Linked DNA regions of Homo sapiens: regions 1, 2 and 4 are each linked to region 3. The links are contacts of gene promoters, found by promoter capture Hi-C in blood cells and fetal thymus (Javierre and others, 2016). All regions are on one chromosome and are shown on one strand. The core of a region is centred on a gene start or on the middle of the fragment in contact, and the rest is flanking DNA. Distances in the headings are between cores, read along the strand shown.

Evidence for each region. Contacts are between HindIII fragments. The CHiCAGO score rates a contact against its expected background, and 5 or more counts as called.
Region 1: a fragment that was not itself captured here is called in contact with the fragment with the promoter of DHRS12 in region 3 in 2 of 17 cell types (fetal thymus and naive CD8 T cells); the score reaches 6.8 in fetal thymus.
Region 2: a fragment that was not itself captured here is called in contact with the fragment with the promoter of DHRS12 in region 3 in 2 of 17 cell types (naive CD4 T cells and activated CD4 T cells); the score reaches 7.1 in naive CD4 T cells.
Region 4: a contact is called between a fragment that was not itself captured here and the fragment with the promoter of DHRS12 in region 3, in 2 of 17 cell types (activated CD4 T cells and neutrophils). The highest score is 5.5, in activated CD4 T cells.

What each region holds. Positions count from the first base shown.
Region 1 is chr13:49,937,372-49,940,363 of GRCh38, reverse strand. No RefSeq gene overlaps it. Among named protein-coding and RNA genes, the nearest start is that of SPRYD7, 2.5 kb to the right of the region's middle. The HindIII fragment of the contact is 853 bases long and covers 875-1,727 here.
Region 2 is chr13:50,076,642-50,079,676 of GRCh38, reverse strand. The region is part of intron 1 of DLEU2 (deleted in lymphocytic leukemia 2); the gene reads left to right. Among named protein-coding and RNA genes, the nearest start is that of DLEU1, 4.0 kb to the left of the region's middle. The HindIII fragment of the contact is 1,071 bases long and covers 795-1,865 here.
Region 3 is chr13:51,802,330-51,805,624 of GRCh38, reverse strand. DHRS12 (dehydrogenase/reductase 12) reads left to right here and starts at 1,462. Exons shown (of 9, transcript NM_001377533.1): 1 at 1,462-1,571. LOC107984561 (a long non-coding RNA gene) reads right to left here and starts at 1,789. Exons shown (of 2, transcript XR_007063805.1): 1 at 824-1,789. RefSeq lists enhancers at 582-711, 3,097-3,146 and a silencer at 1,262-1,901. The HindIII fragment of the contact is 7,862 bases long and covers 1-2,665 here.
Region 4 is chr13:50,118,664-50,121,867 of GRCh38, reverse strand. All of the region lies in intron 1 of DLEU2 (deleted in lymphocytic leukemia 2), which reads left to right. The region is part of intron 2 of DLEU1 (deleted in lymphocytic leukemia 1); the gene reads right to left. Among named protein-coding and RNA genes, the nearest start is that of DLEU2, 5.3 kb to the left of the region's middle. RefSeq lists an enhancer at 1-48. The HindIII fragment of the contact is 7,720 bases long and covers 1-3,204 here.

The DNA.
Region 1 (2,992 bases), core at 52-2,551, 1.9 Mb after region 3:
TTTTTTATTTTTTTTTTGAGATAGAGTCTTGCTCTGTCACCCAGGCTGGAGTGCAATGGCACGATCTTGGTTCACTGCAACCTCCGCCTCTGGGTTCAAGCGATTCTCCTGCCTCAGCCTCCCAAGTAGCTGGGATTACAGGCACACACTGCCATGCCCGGCTAATTTTTTTGTTTGTTTTTAGTAGAGACAGGGTTTCACCATGTTGCCCAGGCTGGTTTCGAACTCCTGAGCTCAGGCAGTCCATATCCCTCGGCCTCCCAAAGTGCTGGGATTACAGGCGTGAACCACCGCACCAGACCTAGGAATGTATTTTTAAATGTAACACCCTAGGAGGCAGTTTGCAGAGTGGTTAAGAACACAGACCCTAGAGCCAGAATGTCTGTTTGAATTTAGCTTCATCCTTCATTGACTGTGCAACTTTTGAGTACATTTCTTATTTTTTCTTCAGCTTCCTCATCTGTAAAGTGGAGGATAGTTTTTCCCTCACATGGTTGTTACAAAGACTAAATTAGTTTATTTTTAAAAAACACTTAGAACAGTGCCTGGCAATAATAAGCACTACATAAATGTCAATCACTATTAGTTACTCAAAATTATAATAATGAATTGGTCAAGGCTCCAGAAATATGTCAGTTTTTAGAAAAATGAGTTTTTGTTAATGTTTCTGATTTTTAAAAAGATCACAAATGTGGTTTGGATTAGTCTAAGGAAAAATGTTTTGTTTAATAACTGATTAATGAGTTTTTAAAAACTCATTTCGTATGACCCAGTACAGAATGGGAAATTCACTAACAGAAGACGTCCAGCTGGCATAAAAAACATTAAAGAAAATCTTAAGCATAATGCTAATCTCAACTCTGAAACACAAGCTTTACATTATTGTTCTCAGTTCTCGAGTTCCTGGCATGTCTTGGAAGCAGACAGACTCTTTTTTTGAAGTAGTCATTCTTTCTTATTGCTTATGACTTAGATAAATGACCTTGAGAAACTATTTTTGGCTTTATTTGTGATTGTTATTTAAAGCGATAGCTGTGAAAGAGTGTCAAAACATCTTTAACGTTGTGCTTTTCAAAAAGAGAGGATAATTCCTTTGAAAGTAATAATGAATGGATATTAGAATCCCAGATATTAGAAGGAAAAGTGAGCTCATGGATGGTGTTAATCTGCCAAGACAGGGAAGTCTGTTTCAGGAGCTAACCAGTTTTGCTAACTTCATTCTGCTGAGCACACTCGAGTTGCTAGGATGGGGGCAAAGTGCACCGGGCAGCGCCCCAGCAAATTACTTTTCCAGCTAGGAAAGACTATGGCCCTTCTGCCTCTCTATAGTAATGTCCAATTCACGGCCATTTAGTGTCTGGCTTTTCATTGAAGATGTGACTGACTTGAATGGCCTAAATGTTTATTACATATATAATACATGTACTTCTTTTAATAATATTTCTGAACAAAATTTTTACTTTATAACAACTAATTCTATTATATTTTGTCTATACATGCATTATGGCAGCTTATATCCAATGTGGAGATAAATGAAACACACAAAAAAGGGCAAATCTGCATTTTGAACTGAGAGCATGTTTAAGAGGATTATAGCATTAATTATAAGAGAAAGAATTTGAGAGGCAGTGTTAAAGCAAACTAAATATGGCCTGAGAAGGACTCTGTACTTCTGTATTTGAGTCCTTGTGTACGAACTGTAACCTAGGTTAATAGGCAGACAAGCTTGAAAACCTAATTTAGGAGTATGCACCTGTAACAATAGCTGAGTCTTGGCCAATCCCAGCGGCCATACTTCAACCAGTCATACACTGCTGATTGTTCAAACTGTGTTCAAATAAGGCAAACGCCCCCCTGTAACCAATGCAGCTGTTTCTGTATCTCACTGCTGATTTCTGTACGTCACTTCCCTCTTTTTGTCTAAAAATTTGTTCTGACCACGAGGCATCCCTGGAGTCTCTCTGAATCTGCTGTGATTCTGGGGGCTGCCCAGTCATTCACTGCTCAGTTTAACTCCTTTAAATTTAGTTCAGCTGAAGTTTTTCTTCTAACAGGAATCAGACTGGTAAGCCTTGAATCCTACCTGTTTATCTCCTGCTCACCTGAAGTTGTAAAGTTTAGTACCTCTAGGCCTATTTCTTCACCTATAAAATGGGGACAATACTGACCTTGAAATCTTGAAATAATTCAACTAGATATATATATATGAACGGTAGAAAAATTTTGTCTCTCCAATATTCTGTTAAAATTCTCACCCCCTGCCCCGCCCCCAGCACTTCCCTGGGGTTAAAAAAAAAAAAAAAAAAAAAAATCAAAGCACTTAATTCCCAGCATAACGATGAAGGTTTGTCATAAAAGAAAATTTCTTGTGTGAAATGATTACCAAGAAAGTACTGCATACGCAATGGGGGAAAAGACCAACCCTCAATCAGTTTAATAATCACCTTGGTTATTAAATTCTATGGTAACTTAATTTCAACGTACAAAACTTTCCCTTAGTATTGTAATGAAAACACCATTTATAGAAAGAGAACCAGGAACCTGAAAAATTCCCCTCATTGCATAGATAGAAATCCTCCTTAAAAAACATTTATAACTCGGGTCACTAAAAGTTACGTATGGGAAATCATTATTTAAGTAGTGGGCATTTTATGTCCAGTTTCCCAGGACTTGATGATCCATCCCTAGGGAAGCCTTCAGGATGAAACTGATCTGGGAACAGAGGTTTGAGCTAGGTTAATTCTAGAGGTCGTCCCAGACATTTCCAGATGCCAAGCGGTATCTTTTTTTTTTTTTTTTTTTTTTTGGAGACAGAGTCTCTGTTGCCCAGGCTGGAGGGCAGTGGCGCGATCTAGGCTCACTGTAACCTCCGCCTCCCGGGTTTAAGCGATTCTCGTGCCACAACCTCCTGAGTGGCTGGGATTACAGGCGTGCACCACCGCACCCAGCTAATTTTTGTATTTTTAGTAGAGACGGGGTTTCACCATGTTGG
Region 2 (3,035 bases), core at 81-2,580, 1.7 Mb after region 3:
AAAACATTTATGTTTCTTAATTTAGACAACAGGTAAGCACAGGTGCGTATCTATTATTTAGTTCCTTTGATAAATTCATTATGAAGAAATATATTGTATACAACAGTGTGGGTGTGCTGTTTTTTATCTGGTTGATTTTCAGTTGATTTTTGTTCGATGTTGCCTGAGACAGCCTCAGTATATTTCCATTTATTACCGAGCTTGTCATTCCATTTAATTGCATCTTGATAAAAGGCAGGTGTCGTTTTCAAAGAACAGCGGCAAACTAACTGATAAACAGCTGTAGATGCTTTGAGAAACAATTGTTTTAATTTAATAGACGTTTATATTCTTTTATGAATAGTAGTTAAATTTTGAAGCTTATAGTGTGTATGTTCGCATTAAGTCAAATACGCATTGTTAAAAAATATTCAAATAAAAAATCTTATGGCTTTTATAAATCTCTGTAGGGCTGTAAATATAATTTACATTAGTAAGTGGAATAGCTGAGTTTATAATTCATACTATTTTGTACTGCCCTCATAACAAGAATTGTGATAACAGATCCCTTTTCATTACCTTTGTTCAAAGCTATTTATTTTGGGTCATCTTATGAAAATTTCATAGAAGGTGCTAATTATCTTCTCTATAAAATTTGATTTAATGAAATTTTAGGAGATCTCATTTCTATTTTAAACGTAATTATACCTAAAGTACCAGAACTCCTGGGTTTTGCTTTTTACTGATGGTTTTTGTTTTGAGTTTTGTATTCTCATTCAAATTACGTGAGTTTTGGGAAGAGTTGGGGGCAAGCTTTAAATTCCACCAGGCTGGTTAAGTATAACCATACATTTTTAGCACTTTGGTTTATGGGATTTTTTGTTTGTTTAGGGGGTAATGGGTAAAGGATTGTTTGTTTAATAAGCCATTTTTAAAAGAAGTGATTCCTTTATTTAAAATACATCACTTCAAATTTGAGAATACACTAGCGCCTAAATAAAATCCACAGCATTCAAAATATTTTCACTTTTATGTGATGCTATATAAGAGGAAGATTTTGGTTTTAGACTTGTGGGCATATAGGTATAAGTTACAACATATGTGTATTTTTTAATGTTTATGTGCACTTATCCATATTTCTCTGTAGAAATTGACAGTTGTAATTTATTTTGTATTACAAAGTCATTTATTACCATAGGAAAGCAACTGCGGGGTGTGGTGTTGCTATAATAGGTCACCCCTTTTTAAAGTTATGTTTACCTATTGTGGGGGAAAGGGGACTGGTAAGGTATCAGTCTTCCTGGTAGCATTGATTTTCATTTGTTTGCCCCCACACTATTTTTAAAAATTCAAATAAAAGTGCAGTTTCAGACTTTTTAAAAAAATACTGTTGACCTGTCTTAGTTGTACATTCAGAAAATGTAGCCTCGGGTGTTTGTATGTAACACTGCATATTTTTTCTAATCAGATTAATATGAGTTTTAATGTTTAGCATGAACTACAGCTAAGGATAAAAATTTTAAAGTAGCTTTCATAGTCTAGATTCCTGGTTTCATCATGCTTTATGTAGTACATTTTCGTTTGTTTTGTTTTGTGGAGACTTGTGTGTATTTTTGTTTGTTTGTTTGTTTATTGGTAGGTAGTAACTATTTGGAATGTCACAGAATACTTAAAGCCAGAAATATGGGTCAGTTGATTTGGTTTACAAAATGAAAAAAAATTCCCAGAGACTGTATTAGATAATTATTATATATGACACATTAGCTTTCTTCAAAAGAAGATGATAAATTTATAGTTTCAAAAAATTATTCTATAAAAATTTCTCTTATTTTAAAATATTACCTAAAATTGGCTCTTGTGTTTTTTTTCTTCTGTCTAATGAAGCTTAAAAATTCACATATTAATTTCTTTTTAACCCCTTTTTAGAAGACACAGATTTTAGGTCTGATTATAACTAGAAAACACATCTTAGAAAAAATTGTCATATATATAGTTTCGTGGGGGTTTTTGGTTTTGTTTTGTTTTTAATTCAGCAAACTTTGAAACATTGTATGCCAGGCAACTAATTTTGGCACATAATTAGAGCTCAACTATGACTTGCTGAAATTTTGTAGCCCCAAATCTCATAACACCAAAGGAAATCAGTAATAAAATACCACTTTATTTCAAATAAGCATTGAAAATGAGATTAAGCATTTAATTTTTGGAAGTGACAGTATTAGAACTTTAATGTCATGATTGTCTTAAGAGTAACAGGATAGATTTTTAGAATATCACATTACTATTATATGTTTATTTATCTCGTAGATCATATAAATATTACTTTCTGGTGGGGAACTGAATGTTTTTTATTTTTTTGCCTCGGTTGGTTTTTTGTTTTTATTTTTTGATCTGTATTAGAGATGCTTTAAAGGATCTTCCTTTTAGAAAGACAAGTTTTAAATATTGAAATTGATATTAAATATATATTTGAATATTATTAATATTTCTTATCAAATTATAAGAAGTTTACTATACCTTTGGTTAATCCTGCCTTATTTCAGTAAAGAAAATTTGTACTGGAATAACTTGTAGTGGTTTCTAAGAATAAATAGTAAGCTCTATTTTGTAATAGATTTTAGATTTGAGTTTTACTATTTGAAGGTTTTTTAATATTGCCTTTTTTATCATACACATTGGTTTATTATTTTATTTATATCCAGACCTCTTTTGCTTCTTATTGGTTAGTATTTTTCATCTCCCTACTATTTAAAAACTTAACATTTGGCATGTAGTACATTTTGTTTTCTACTATTTTCCTTCTATGATTTTTAAACTTAAGATACCTTAATTTTCAGAGTGCTCAAATATAGAAAACTGTCTGTCTTTTGAGGAAGACTGTGTATAAATGACGGTAATTTTTTAAAATGTCATGGTATTTGGATTGGTGTTTATGAGTTATGGATGATTGTGTGGGTTTTGTCATTAAACAATCAAATATTTGGCAACAGAGGAATAAAGGTTTTTTTAGGTTTTACTCTTTCATTTTCCTAAGCTATTCTTAAATATAACTGGAA
Region 3 (3,295 bases), core at 213-2,712:
TAATGAATGCCTTTAATCACAACCACCCCACGAGGTGCGCATATTCATTCCCATTTTACATATTAAGAAACCAAGACTGAGGGTGTATGCAGCATGCTCAGGTTCACCTGGCTAATGCAGAGAGCTGGGTTTGCAGCCACACTTTTACTTCAAGGGGCTGCTGACACCCTCCAAGAGACTTGGTGGTTCAAAACTATTTCTCATCCCCTCTCTGCGAGCCAAAAGCCTATTTCCTGAGGTGTTCAGAGAGATTCAGAGCAGATTGACACCTTTTCCATCACTGACACAAAGAGGAGGGTATAAAAAACAGTATGTAGCCCTGGGGATCTAAAATATTTTCCCAGCCAAATCGGACAGGCATTGAAAGTCACACAGGCTGGGGTGGTTTTACAAAATGCCACTTGTTTAAATTTCCTTTCATCACTCTGTCAGGAATAACAGCAACGTAGTGGAGCCTCAGAGTCCTGTTGAGAGGGGCGAGCTGTTCCGGGGAAATTTATTTCAAAAGTTATTCTGAAGTAAAAACTTGCCCACTGTGGAGTGAGGTTGGACAGTGATCCTATATCCTAGGTAATGAGGCTATTAAAGCAGCTGGTCTCTTCAGCTTATGTAAGTGGGGCCCAGTCTCTGGGCGACTTGGGTAAACCGGTATAGAATTTAACAGGGTGACTAGGAGTGACAGCAGCAGTAAGACCCCCATTTCTAATGTGGCGTTAGGGCTGGAGGTTAGATGTGGACAGGGGTGTCTGAGTCCTACATAATGGGGCTGGATGACTAGTCTGAGATCTGGGTTCACGCAGCAACCACACTCTTTTTTACTCACACTGTTCATCTGGGCTTGGGTGGAAAGAGGCTGATGAGGATTTGGGGGAAATCAAGGGGCTCTCCCTGGCATTGCATGAAGTCGCAGAACCAGTGGCAAAAGTCCAACTTTGGAGACAATTACTTCTCGGGTGGGAGCCCCAGCCCTGCCTCTTGCCTGCGATGTCGCCAATCTGACTGCGCTTGCTGGAGACGGGAAATGTGGCACGGCACTGCATCCCCCAACACGTGTAGAAACTTAGAGAATGCCAGTTATTAAAATAACCCTTATGATAACACCAATTCGATGCAGAAGTCTTTTAAATATCATAAGCCTCGTCGTTTTATTCCACATGGTTTTCTAGGTAACCAAATTCTAGGAGGTGCGTTGCAGGGCCATCTTCGCATCCCGGCCATGCCCAGCAGGACGGTGTTCTCTAAACGGCGCTGATGCCCGATTTCGACCCCGAGGAGACTGCGGACCTCGACTGCGGCCCCCACCAGGGCCGGTCCGCCCTCACTCCACCCTCTGAGGCTGGGGCGGAGTCGACCGGCCGGCCCCGAGACCCCTTGCCTTACCGGTGGAGCAAGGAACCGGAAGCCGCGGCTCTTACATAACCGGGATGATGTCAGGGCGGGCGACTCCCGGGGGGCGGGACCAGGGCGGAGGCCGCGCCGGGAGCGCGGTGGGGCTAGGCGTGGGGCGCTCCCGGCATGTCCCTGTACCGCAGCGTCGTGTGGTTCGCCAAGGGGCTGCGCGAGTACACCAAGTAAGGCGGCGCGGCGGGGCGCGGGGCCCCGGGCTGTCACGTGGCCCGCCTCGGCGCGGGCGAGCAGGGTTGGCGGGGACGCGCCCGCGGCTCCTTCGCCCTCTCGCTGGGCCGACTAAGCGTGTCCAGAACGACGGGTGCGCCCGCCGTCTAGCGACCCACGGCTGGGCGTGGGGCAGTCGCCAGACTCCAGCCGCTCAATGCCCGCGACCGAGACTGGCGCCCGAGGGGCGGGGCTGTGGCGCGCCCAAGCCCAGGGCCGTCCCACTGACGTCAGGCGGCCCCGGCGCCAAGGAGCCTCTTGGGCGGCACCTCGGCGCCCCGCTGGGTGTGCTCGTGGAAGTGTCTTCGTGGTGCTGCTGGCGGCGTCAGATAGGGCTGGATCTAAATCGCTAGCTAAGGCTCTGTCCTAGTGCCTTTGGGTGTGTTTCCTTTAAAAAGATGCAGCACCTGGACTGCGACCTTTGGCTCCAGCTGGAACTTTCCAGCCAGTGTGTGCTTCTGGGGAACGGTGCGTGGTGGTTTCGTCGCCCCGTGACCACGCTCAGTGTGCCCTAGTTGGCTCTCCACCTCATTGTGGTTTTAAGAGGTGACAGGTTCCTGTGACGGAGGAGAGATGGAGGTTTTCTCTTAGAATTGATTAGGCTAACCGCTGGTTCTCAACCCTGTCTGCACATCAGAATCACTGGGCGAGAATTAAAAGTACCCAGTTTTCAGGCCCCATCCCTACAGATTCTGATTTAGTGGATCTGCACAGGGGCCTGGACTGGCATTTCATCCAAATGCCCCAGGTGATTCTCACCTCTGAGAGGCTTCTCCCTGCACTGGGGCTTTATCAGTTCCCACGGCAACCTGGCCAGCACTCCTAGGGGAGGTAGGAGTTGCAACTCCCTGCTCTTCACCCCACATCGTTTTGGAGAAGGTTCAGCTCTGTCTCAGGAGCCCCTGCTGCAGAGAATGGTGGGGAGTGTAGTCGTGAGCCCTGTCCCACAGTTTTTAGGGGAATACAGTGGCAGCCTCTTTCTTTCAAAGGGGTGTCCTCTGGCAATGACCATTAATTGCTGGATCTTTCCACATTACACAGCATGAAAGCTTAAGTCAGTTTCCAACCAGGGGTGGGCCCCAAGGAAAGCAGACTGTAAAAATTTCTCCCAGGACTCTTTCGCTCTGATTTCCCCACCTTGAGGGAAGGTAGAAGTGAGGCCAAGGGGCCCAATCCACCACAGATTGGTGGGGGAAGGGAGGGGAGGGGAAGGCAGTTGGCAAAGTTAGATGGGTTTTCCTGCTGTTGTGGATTTAGTGAATAGGAGAGAAAAACAACAACCTTGTTTTGACTTCAGTGTGAGAGCGCGGAGTTAGAGTTTACAACGTTTCTCTTGGCACAAGGATTTTTATAAAGCCTCCCTATATTGGGCTCCTAAGGCAGGAGGATCTAATCACTGTTTCCTAAACTTTGCTGAACCTAATAATTCCCTGGGGCAGTTTTAAACAGACTCCTAAACCCTGGGCAAGTGTGGATGGGTCCTAAGCAAATTTCATATTTGGGTAAATTGAGGGTGTGGGGAGACACAGATACCTGCCAGCTTCCTCCTCCCCATCCCTGTCACCTCAGCTTCAGGAAACAGTAAGTACAAATGTCCTCTCAGCTTGAGTCAAAATCACTGGCAAGGCACATGAAACCACAGGTTGCCAAGCAATCACTTCTGAGTCAGTAGGCAGGGCAT
Region 4 (3,204 bases), core at 601-3,100, 1.7 Mb after region 3:
TAGTGGCTTAAAACAACATTACCTTGCCTAGTAGAGAAAACTTGTTTCTAATCCACTGGATGACAGCTGGGGCAGCTCAAAGGCTGGAGCTGGCATCATCTGAAGGCTTGTCCACTTGCTTGTCTAGTGGTTAATACTGACTGATGGCTGGGGCTATCAGCCAGAACACCTACACATGGCCTCTCCATGTGGTCTGGCTGCCTCACAACAGGGTGGCTAGTTCCACAGGTCCTAAGACTGAGAGCCAGATGGAAACTGTATCACAGAGTCTCACTCTGTCACCCAGGCTGGAGTGCAGTGGCGCGATCTCAGTTCACTGCAACCTATGCCTCCTAGGTTCAAGTGATTCTCCTGCCTCAGCATCCTGAGCAGCTGGGACTACAAGCACGTGCCACCACGCCTGGCTGATTTTTGTATTTTTAATAGAGAGGGGGTTTCACCGTGTTAGCCAGGATGGTCTCGATCTCCTGACCTTGTGATCCGCCCGCCTCGGCCTCCCAAAGTGTTTGGATTACAGGCGTGAGCCATCACACCTGGTAAAACTGTATCATTTTTTATAACCTAGTCTTAGAAGCCATGCAGCATCATATCCATCACTTCCGTTTGTTAAAAGCAAATTACTAAGGCCATATGTGTTCTGGGGAGGGGAATTAGACTCCACCTTTTAATGGTAGGAGTGTCAATTTGCAACATGTTTAAAATCACCACATGTAACTTCTGATAAATAGATTTATAAACAGTACATTTGTACATTAGAAAAGTTTAAACATAAGAAACCTAATAAATACCCTCTTTTTTATATTAGAATGAAATATAAAAACCCAAACATTTAAATGTTCCAGCAAAGCTAATCCTGAGCCAACTTGAGTAGGCAGTCTGTCTCATAATCTTCCTGCACCTTTCTTCTCCCTGTGTCCATTCCCTCCAGGTCAGGCCTCCTGTGCACACATACCCTTCTCTCCCAAACTAGGTAGGACATTCACAGTAGCTGTACCTCCACGGTGATGAAAACTTTTTTCTTTGCCCTCCATGAGTTATCCCAACTTTGGACCTCATAGGATCGCTGGCAATCAATGGCATAATGTCCTTCTCAAAATTAAAAAGCAAAATGCTATGGAGAATATTCCAGTAAGTAATTTTATAATAATAATTAAAACAAAATGACATTTCCCAAAAGGGACAATATGCTTTTAGATGTTACGATATTGACTTTATTGGGGCTTGTTTATTCATCAAAATCAGTAATTCTAAAGGAACAGTTGAGGCTTTTAAGTATTTTATAAGAGTATGCATGTTTCCTATGAAGGCGACGTAACACTTGATTATTACAATAAAAAAATGGATACTTCTCCCACCTTTATAATGCAGACTGATTTATTTTTATTTTAAACCAGCATATATAATTATTTGTTTGGTAGAGAGACTCAAGAGTTATCGCTCTAAAAAACTGAAAATACTACTTTTCATTGAATAATCAAGGTTAAATAATCTTTTCTTATAACCTAGTATCTTGTAAAATTCTCCCTAAGCTGATATTAACTTATACATCTTTGGTGTTTTTTGTTTTTTTTAAGAAATATTAAATGTGCTTCCTCTATGACTTAGAAATAGAAATAGTGCTTAGGCCATTTTAATAATTTGTACTTTCCTAAAGGCTAATCCCTCTAATTTTGGTAATTTTGCATATTTATATTTATGTTGAGTCAAAATCACACTGTAAGTTCATACTGTAGAATATGAGTTTTTAAATAAGTACGTCCAGATAAGGAGCAAATATATATTTATGAACCCTTTATTTTTTGGTGTATTACTTAATGATGTTTGAAGTAGCTTTTTTAAAAAATAAAATGAAGAAACTATACCTTTGTTTTTAAAGTTTCTCATACAGTAATGATTTAACAACAACAACAAAAAAAGGATGCAGCATTCAGGATAAACTGATAGACTTTGCTATCAGATCTAAACTGTACTTACTTCTCTGTGAGCTCATAGCTACCACGGAGGCAGCCCAAAGGAGCTTAAGTAAACACTAAAATTACATAATGCGGTTCTGAAGGAGCAACAACCCCAACCAAACTGTGCCATATAGTTTCACAGATGCTGTTTTTCTGTATGCCAGAATGCTCTCCTATCTATAGAATGACTTCACAGTAATGATAACGTGAAAGAAAATTGGAAGTGGGCCAGTCTGTCTCCAGACATTTTGAATGAAGGCAGGGTTGAGGAAATTATTTTAAAGTAATTATGCAGTGAGTTTTTTAAAACCTTATAAACTAAGCATTTAGTAGCACTTTGGAAAGTGTAGTGAAACTGGCACATGGAGAAATAAATTCAATACAGAAAATATGATACCAGGATCACATAGCTTAGGGTCTTAAAAAAAGAAAATATGATCTTGCTAGCTAATAGTAATAATGCGGCCGGGCGCGGTGGCTCACGCCTGTAATCCCAGCACTTTGGGAGGCCGAGGCGGGCGGATCACGAGGTCAGGAGATCGAGACCATCCTGGCTAACACGGTGAAACCCCGTCTCTACTAAAAATACAAAAAATTAGCCGGGCGAGGTGGCGGGCGCCTGTAGTCCCAGCTACTCGGGAGGCTGAGGCAGGAGAATGGCGTGAACCCCAGGGGGCGGAGCCTGCAGTGAGCCGAGATTGCGCCACTGCACTCCAGCCTGGGCGACAGCGAGACTCCGTCTCAAAAAAAAAAAAAAAAAAAAAAAAATAGTAATAATGCTCTGTCTACAAATACATTAAGAACTAAATGCAATCTTCTTAAGTAAAAAAACAAAGAATTACAAGTCCTTAAGGTAGTAAAGTTATTCCTATGAATATGTGAGTAAAAATTCAACTTTGCCTAATTAAATTACAGAAAGAGACCCCTCCCCCGTCAGATTGACAAAGATTGAAAATAAGTGCTGATAACCAGTGCCACTAAGAGTGCAATAAAACTTTCAGTCTTGTCTGGGCGAGGTGGCTCACGCCTGTAATCCCAGCACTTTGAGAGGCCGTGGCGGGCGGATCACGAGGACAGGAGTTTGAGACCAGCCTGGCCAACATGGTGAAACTCCATCTGTACTAAAAAAAATATAAAAATTAGCCGGGCAGGGTGGCCTGTGCCTGTAATCCCAGCTACTCGGGAGGCTGAGGCAGGAGAATCACTTGAACCCGGGAGGTGGAGGTTGCAGTGAGCCAAGATCGTGCCA